Linked DNA regions of Homo sapiens: region 2 is linked to region 1. Evidence: promoter capture Hi-C in 16 types of primary human blood cells and fetal thymus (Javierre and others, 2016). All regions are on one chromosome and are shown on one strand. Each heading gives the region's core, a stretch centred on a gene start or on the middle of the fragment in contact. The rest is flanking DNA. Distances are from core to core; before and after follow the strand shown. Region 1 holds the start of HNRNPK-AS1 (HNRNPK antisense RNA 1). Region 2 overlaps TUT7 (terminal uridylyl transferase 7).

Evidence for each region. Contacts are between HindIII fragments. The CHiCAGO score rates a contact against its expected background, and 5 or more counts as called.
Region 2: a fragment that was not itself captured here is called in contact with the fragment with the promoter of HNRNPK-AS1 in region 1 in 1 of 17 cell types (total CD8 T cells); the score reaches 5.3 in total CD8 T cells.

The regions. Positions count from the first base shown.
Region 1 is chr9:83,970,845-83,973,778 of GRCh38, reverse strand. HNRNPK-AS1 (HNRNPK antisense RNA 1) reads right to left here and starts at 1,684. Exons shown (of 2, transcript NR_186535.1): 1 at 1,502-1,684. HNRNPK (heterogeneous nuclear ribonucleoprotein K) reads left to right here. Exons shown (of 17, transcript NM_031263.4): 9 at 380-493; 10 at 807-935; 11 at 1,590-1,897; 12 at 2,053-2,107; 13 at 2,423-2,506; 14 at 2,867-2,882. The HindIII fragment of the contact is 2,844 bases long and covers 830-2,934 here.
Region 2 is chr9:86,310,628-86,315,431 of GRCh38, reverse strand. TUT7 (terminal uridylyl transferase 7) reads left to right here. Exons shown (of 27, transcript NM_024617.4): 18 at 4,623-4,726. Among named protein-coding and RNA genes, the nearest start is that of ISCA1, 30 kb to the right of the region's middle. RefSeq lists an enhancer at 2,255-3,092. The HindIII fragment of the contact is 3,774 bases long and covers 342-4,115 here.

The sequences.
Region 1 (2,934 bases), core at 435-2,934:
ATGGTCTTACAACTCACTGTTGACCCTGCTCCATGCTGCAGTGGGAATTAACTACATTTGCAAAGTGCTTTGCAGTCATTTTTATTATGGTGTTATTTGAATGTTAATAATAATTTTGTGGTAACAGCGACATGCTAAATGGCTGCAGTGTGGGTATGGTGTTGCAGGACCTGAAAATAAAATAGTTTTTTAAGGTGGTGCAGAATGTCCTTTTTGGGCCTGGCTATTGAGGATAATAAGCACATAACTGGTAAAGTTATTGAAATATAAATTCAGGTTGCTCACTGCAACAGTATATTATTGTTATGCTTATAGCAGATAAGTGTGTATTGGGGAATTGTTGATTTGAGACTAAAATTTTATAATTCTCCCTCCACAGTACCAACACTATAAAGGAAGTGACTTTGACTGCGAGTTGAGGCTGTTGATTCATCAGAGTCTAGCAGGAGGAATTATTGGGGTCAAAGGTGCTAAAATCAAAGAACTTCGAGAGGTAAAAAAAAAAAAATTCTGCCGTATTCTTTGCTGGAAAGTAAATTTTCATATAGACTTGTTTCTGTGAGCTTCTCTCGCTTCCCCTCTCAGTTCCCTCCAAAGATTGCTTATCGCAAATGACAAAAAATGTCTGGCACTGCTAGACATGTTATTTTGTCAAAATTTTTATACCATTGCAAAGCCCTGTGATAATTAATGAAGTTTTTATATTGTGGGGGGTTAATTGTTGAATTCAAATGCAATTTTCACTGAACCTAGGAAAGCTAATTTTCTTCTAATTATTATTATTTTTTTTTATGATCTTACTACAGAACACTCAAACCACCATCAAGCTTTTCCAGGAATGCTGTCCTCATTCCACTGACAGAGTTGTTCTTATTGGAGGAAAACCCGATAGGGTTGTAGAGTGCATAAAGATCATCCTTGATCTTATATCTGAGGTACTTCAGAACACTTTTTGTTTACATTTGATTTTATGAAACAAAGTGATAACCTTCTGCAAAAGTAGCTTCAGAGCATTTAGTCTAATAGTCTTTATTTGCCCTTTCCCTAGCAATTTTCTATCACCTGGCTTCAGCCATCACTTTAATTTAAAAATGGTTTTGAAAAAGTGGAGAGTGGTAATTTGTTGGTGGTATTTCTATAGCCTTTGAGCCTTTGAATGAATTTCCTATAGTGTTGCTTGTGTCTTTGTAACTATGCTGCAGGGCTTCCTATCTCAGGTGCCTCAGTATGGATTACAGGCTTGCCAAGACTGATCTCTTCAGCCCTTGTTGTGAAATGTGCATTGTAGTTTGTCATGTGTAAAATGGGAGGGCTTTGTGGTTTCTTACGATCTAAGTGTAAGAGCAAGCTATTACTTCTCCCTGTATAGGCAATAGAACTCACTTTTGTTTAGCATTTGCCAAAAGTATTGGATTTCTTTGGAATCTTTACTTTGCTACTTTTAGCGTTGACATAATTCCTGTTTCTGTCTCTAGTACCTCCTGATGGGGGAATGACTTACATTTTGTTTGATGATGATGTTAGAAGGATTGGTATGAAGCAGGACTCTTTTTCTTCAGTCTGTAAGTTTGTTCCATCTCTGTTTTTAGTCTCCCATCAAAGGACGTGCACAGCCTTATGATCCCAATTTTTACGATGAAACCTATGATTATGGTGGTTTTACAATGATGTTTGATGACCGTCGCGGACGCCCAGTGGGATTTCCCATGCGGGGAAGAGGTGGTTTTGACAGAATGCCTCCTGGTCGGGGTGGGCGTCCCATGCCTCCATCTAGAAGAGATTATGATGATATGAGCCCTCGTCGAGGACCACCTCCCCCTCCTCCCGGACGAGGCGGCCGGGGTGGTAGCAGAGCTCGGAATCTTCCTCTTCCTCCACCACCACCACCTAGAGGGGGGTAAGTTGTTTTTTTTGTTGTTGTTGTTTTTTCTTCCCCCATCTATGAATTATTAACCTGCAAGAGGCTGCACTTAGTGGTAGACAAGGTAGACTTTGATTTGATATGTGTGGCATGTAAGCACGTTTAGATTACAACAAGTACTATGCTTGCAGAGACCTCATGGCCTATGACAGAAGAGGGAGACCTGGAGACCGTTACGACGGCATGGTAAGAACTTTGGTTTATTACCAGTGTGTTGGGTATGTGAGGGTTGTCACAATGTAGTTCACGTTTTGTTGAAGGTTATAGTGATTAAAAAGTTTTTCTTACAAGTAAATTTTGTTTGGATTACTAGTTAAATAATTCTGTTATTTGCTGCTGGAGGATTACGACTTTATTGAGCTTTGTTCCCCTCGATTACAAAATTGCTGCCTATATATGTACCCTCTTTTGTTTTAATGTAACATGCAAATTAGGCATATTAAAAACAGCTCTATAACAAAATACAATGCGGGTTCATGTTAATGTTTTTATCTCTAACAGGTTGGTTTCAGTGCTGATGAAACTTGGGACTCTGCAATAGATACATGGAGCCCATCAGAATGGCAGATGGCTTATGAACCACAGGTTGAGTATCATAGTTGTTCGTGTGTATATCAGTGATAATTTAAGATGCTTACCTGCTCTCCAGTAAGTTTTTTATTCCCCTGAGGATACTTACTGAAAATAGGATACAGGAGGACTTTGGTTTCCTGAAGAGGGATTTTATGAGATTAAAATACTTGAATAGTGAAGCTGGGTGCAGTGGTGCTCACTCATAATCCCAACTACAAAAGAGTCTGAGGCAGGAGGATCACTTGAGCCCGAGAGTTTGAGACCAGCCTGGGCAACATAGCAAGACTCCATTTTATTAAATGAATTTTTTTAAAGTACCGGTAGTAATTACAACGGCAAAGTAATTTTCTATTTTTTTCTTTCTGTTTTTAGGGTGGCTCCGGATATGGTAAGTTCTCTCCTTTGTGAAGTCAAACATTAATTTCATACTTTTTAAATGA
Region 2 (4,804 bases), core at 979-3,478, 2.3 Mb before region 1:
CTCTCAATTTCTTCCTGTACCATTTGAGATTAAGCTATAGACATTATGTCCTTTCCCCTAAATACCTCAGTATATATTTCCTAAGAAGGAACGATGTTAAAAACAGATCATTTTTAGATTAGAAATGACTTAGGCACACAGATGATTTATAATAATAATGGAATGCAGATTGCCTGGAACAAGAATTTCGTAACAGCTAGAGGGCTGTGTTTAAAACTTCATATCTTTAAAACAGTCTCCCCAGGTATTTTATTGGGTGCCTCCTATGTGCACAGCACTGTGTTGGGCACTTAGGGATGGTGGAAAAGTAAAAAAATCTGTATGTTTTTTTTGTGAAAGCTTCCATATCTTAAGAGGTAAGGTAATCTTCCAAACTATGTAACAATGTAAGGTAATATTCAATTAAATAACTTCTAAGAAGAGAGAATGTGGGAAAGAGTTGCACAGGGGAGGTTGATGGAAGAGATGGAGGTTGCTATGATCTCAGATGATGGTGAACACGATTTGAAAAGGATGGGAAAAGAAATCATTTCTAAGTGCATAGATGTGAATGTGAGACTGTGGGATATTTTGGAGAGCAGTGAGAAGATTGGTACATTTGGAGATTTTCAAATGGGAAATACTAGGAGATAAGATGAAGTCTATAGATATTTGGAAGCACTGAAGTTTCTTCAGGAGGGAAAGGACCCAATAAAAGCATAACATAAGGTTTTTAGGCAGCTGGTGTGGTATTTTAGGGAAGGTATAATGTAGACAACAGGGCAGCAGGACCTCAGCCAGGGTGCCACTGGTGCTAACAGGAAAAAGATATGAGAGATTCCAAGTGGGAAAATTTCCTAGATTTGGTACCTGCAAGTAGGAAGTAAGGATTGAGGTCACTATCTGGGTTATTTGAGAACCAGGAATGTTTGCAGAGAACACCTGTGTGAAAGTGTTTAGTTTGCCATGAGCATATAATCTCCAAGACTTAACATTCCAGAAAACAATTAGAAATATGGGGTTGCCAGTCAGAATTGAAGATGAAAATAAAACAGTTTTTTTGCATTGAAAGCCTTGAAGAAAAAGAGAGAGATTGAGAGAAAGAGACTAGACAGAAATTAAGAAAAGAGACTGAAAAGGAACTGGGAAGATATGCTGTGAATAAATCCGAGACTTTGAAGTGTGGTAATGATCAACAGTGTCAAATTCCAGAATGGGAAGGATGTGAAGAAAAGGGCCTCTGTCTAATTTAGAGGCGAGATAGCAAAGTACTAGGTGGAGGTTCTGGAATCAGACTCTGATTTTAAATTCTGTCTCCCCCTTGCTGGCTGTGCAATCCCAAAAAGTCACTCAGCTTCATAACAAGCACTCAGTTCCTCATCTCTAAAGTGGAAATAACAATTCTATGGCATTTAAGAAAGATAATACGTAAAGTGCAAAGCCTAGCATATTCTAAGTATTCAGTAAAGTGAGCTTCCTTGCCCCCTTTCCCCATCAGATTAAGTTTCATTTCCTCTGTCTGCCACACAGATTTTTTCCTGAAATGTCTTCTACCTACTTATTTTCTCCTGTGTTCTATGATGTGATCACTATGTATCTGCTTTTTAGGAACCACCACTTAGCTCTCTCAGAAGAAACTCAAACTCTGACATCTCAGAATGAGCTTATCTTTCACTTTACCGCTTCCCTTCTGCAGGAACCAACTCCATTAATCTGCCCTTCCTTGTGAATCCTTTTTCATGGTTGTTGATATTGGCATCCTTGGAATCAATAAAACGGGTGAAATGATAATTAGCCTGACCCACACTAGGTTCAGTATAAGTTGGGAGTCAATCTTACCTAGATTTGAATTCCGGCTCCACAATTTACCAGCTGCATATTCCTAAGCTAGTGAATCTTTCTGGGTCTCTGTTTCCTCATCTGTAAGATGAGGGTGATAAACCTAAGGAGGTAATGTTTGTAAAGGACTCTTCACATATCCCTATCACACATTAGGTGCTCAGGAAGTGGTAACTCTTACTCTGAAAGCCCTGATCCTCTCTTACTACCCCTAGCTTCCCATCCAGTTACAGATGCTCTCAAACATGCCTTGCTTCTTCTGTGTATTCCCATGCCACCATGAAAGTTCACACCCAGTTGTTTTTCATAAGTGGTCACCCTGCCTCTGTTCCTGGTGCCTCCAGTCTGTCCACTGCCAGGGTTATTGTCTAACTAGATGTGGTCAGTGATTCCTCCCAACTTAGACCAGTTCATTGGCTCCTCTTTGATTCTAAGGATAATTCTTTTTATTTATTTATTTATTTATTTATTTATTTATTTATTTATTATTGATCATTCTTGGGTGTTTCTCGCAGAGGGGGATTTGGCAGGGTCACAGGACAATAGTGGAGCAGCATAATAAACTTGTTTATCTGGTCAGCAGATAAACAAGTGAACAAAGGTCTCTGGTTTTCCTAGGCAGAGGACCCTGCGGCCTTCTGCAGTGTTTGTGTCCCTGGGTACTTGAGATTAGGGAGTGGTGATGACTCTTAACGAGCATGCTGCCTTCAAGCATCTGTTTAACAAAGCACATCTTGCACCGCCCTTAATCCATTCAACCCTGAGTGGATACAGCAGGTTTCAGAGAGCACAGGGTTGGGGGTAAGGTCACAGATCAACAGGATCCCAAGGCAGAAGAATTTTTCTTAGTACAGAACAAAATGAAAAGTCTCCCATGTCTACCTCTTTCTACACAGACACGGCAACCATCCGATTTCTCAATCTTTTCCCCACCTTTCCCCGCTTTCTATTCCACAAAACCGCCATTGTCATCATGGCCTGTTCTCAATGAGCTGTTGGGTACACCTCCCAGATGGGATGGTGGCCGGGCAGAGGGGCTCCTCACTTCCCAGTAGGGGCGGCCGGGCAGAGGCGCCCCTCACCTCCCAGACGGGGCAGCTGGCCGGGCGGGGGACTGACCCCCCCACCTCCCTCCCGGATGGGGTGGCTGCCGGGTGGAGACGCTCCTCACTTCCCAGACGGGGTGGCTGCCGGGCGGAGGGGCTCCTCACTTCTCAGACGGGGCGGCTGCTGGGCTGAGGGGCTCCTCACTTCTCAGACTGGGCGGTTGCCAGGCAGAGGGTCTCCTCACTTCTCAGATGGGGCGGCCGGGCAGAGACGCTCCTCACATCCCGGACGGGGCGGCAGAGCAGAGGCGCTCCCCACATCTCAGACGATGGGTGGCCGGGCAGAGACGCTCCTCACTTCCTAGATGGGATGGCGGCCGGGAAGAGGCGCTCCTCACTTCCTAGATGGGATGGTGGCCGGGCAGAGACGCTCCTCACTTTCCAGACTGGGCAGCCAGGCAGAGGGGCTCCTCACATCCCAGACGATGGGCGGCCAGGCACAGATGCTCCTCACTTCCCAGACGGGGTGGCGGCCGGGCAGAGGCTGCAATCTCAGCACTTTGGGAGGCCAAGGCAGGCGGCTGGGAGGTGGAGGTTGTAGCGGGCCGAGATCACGCCACTGCACTCCAGCCTGGGCACCATTGAGCACTGAGTGAACGAGACTCCGTCTGCAATCCCGGCACCTCCGGAGGCCAAGGCTGGCGGATCACTCGTGGTTAGGAGCTGGAGACCAGCCCGGCCAACACAGCGAAACCCCGTCTCCACCAAAAAAATACGAAAACCAGTCAGGCGTGGCGGCGCGCACCTGCAATCGCAGGCACTCGGCAGGCTGAGGCAGGAGAATCAGGCAGGGAGGTTGCAGTGAGCCGAGATGGCAGCGGTACAGTCCAGCTTCGGCTCGGCATCAGAGGGAGACCGGCATCAGAGGGAGACCGTGGAAAGAGAGGGAGAGGGAGACCGTGGGGAGAGGGGAGAGGGAAGAGGGGAGAGGGAGAGGGAGAGGACTAAGGATAATTCTTAGCAAAATGTGTATGTTCTGTAGTTGGACCTTTCCCAGTTTCTCCACCATCTCCTATGCCTCATATTCCATTCCCTCAAGTTCATTCGGCAACCTATGCAATTCTCTGGAACTTCCCTGAACGTACCATTCTATTTCAGGCATCTACACTTTTTGTGTACAGTTTGCCTTGCCTGGTAAATTTGCTCAACTGCCACTATTTTTGCTGGTTTTTCTCCCTCTTTTTCAAAGCTTAGCTCAGGCAATTTCCTCTCTCCTATTGAAGTTAATTCCTATTAACTTCATAACTTCTAGCTTTAAGGTGAGTAACTTGTTTGGAGGATAATCGTCCCTTAGGCTGTTCTCCAAATTAGATATAGTCACATGGAGAGAACAGGTGGGAACCACATAGTTCAGACTCTATAGTAGTTTCCTCTGTTTGGTATTTGTCTTAGTGACAACGACATACACATGCATATACACACATGCACACGTGTGCACATACGATCCAGTAAGTTCCCAGAGGGGAGTGACTGTTTGATTCTTGTAGTTCTAATATCAATATGTTTAATAAATGTAAACTTTGCCAGACTAATCTTCCCAGATGTTTGTTAATAACAGAATTCTTTGACAAGTCCTAATGAATGCAATGAAACAGGCCAAAGTTAGGTTTACACCATTTTATATTGGAACATTAACATAAGAGTTACTTATATCCCCAGCTGCTGTATTTAATGATAACATTTTATTTCCCAACTTAGGTCTGAGAAACATCTTACCTATTACAACAGCAAAGGTGCCAATTGTGAAGTTCTTCCATTTGAGAAGTGGTCTGGAAGTAGATATCAGTTTGTATAACACATTGGTAAGATTTTTTTCAGGCTTTTTGTTTAGAGAGGTTAAGGGAACAAATGTCTCACCTTGCAAAAACCTCAAGTTAAAG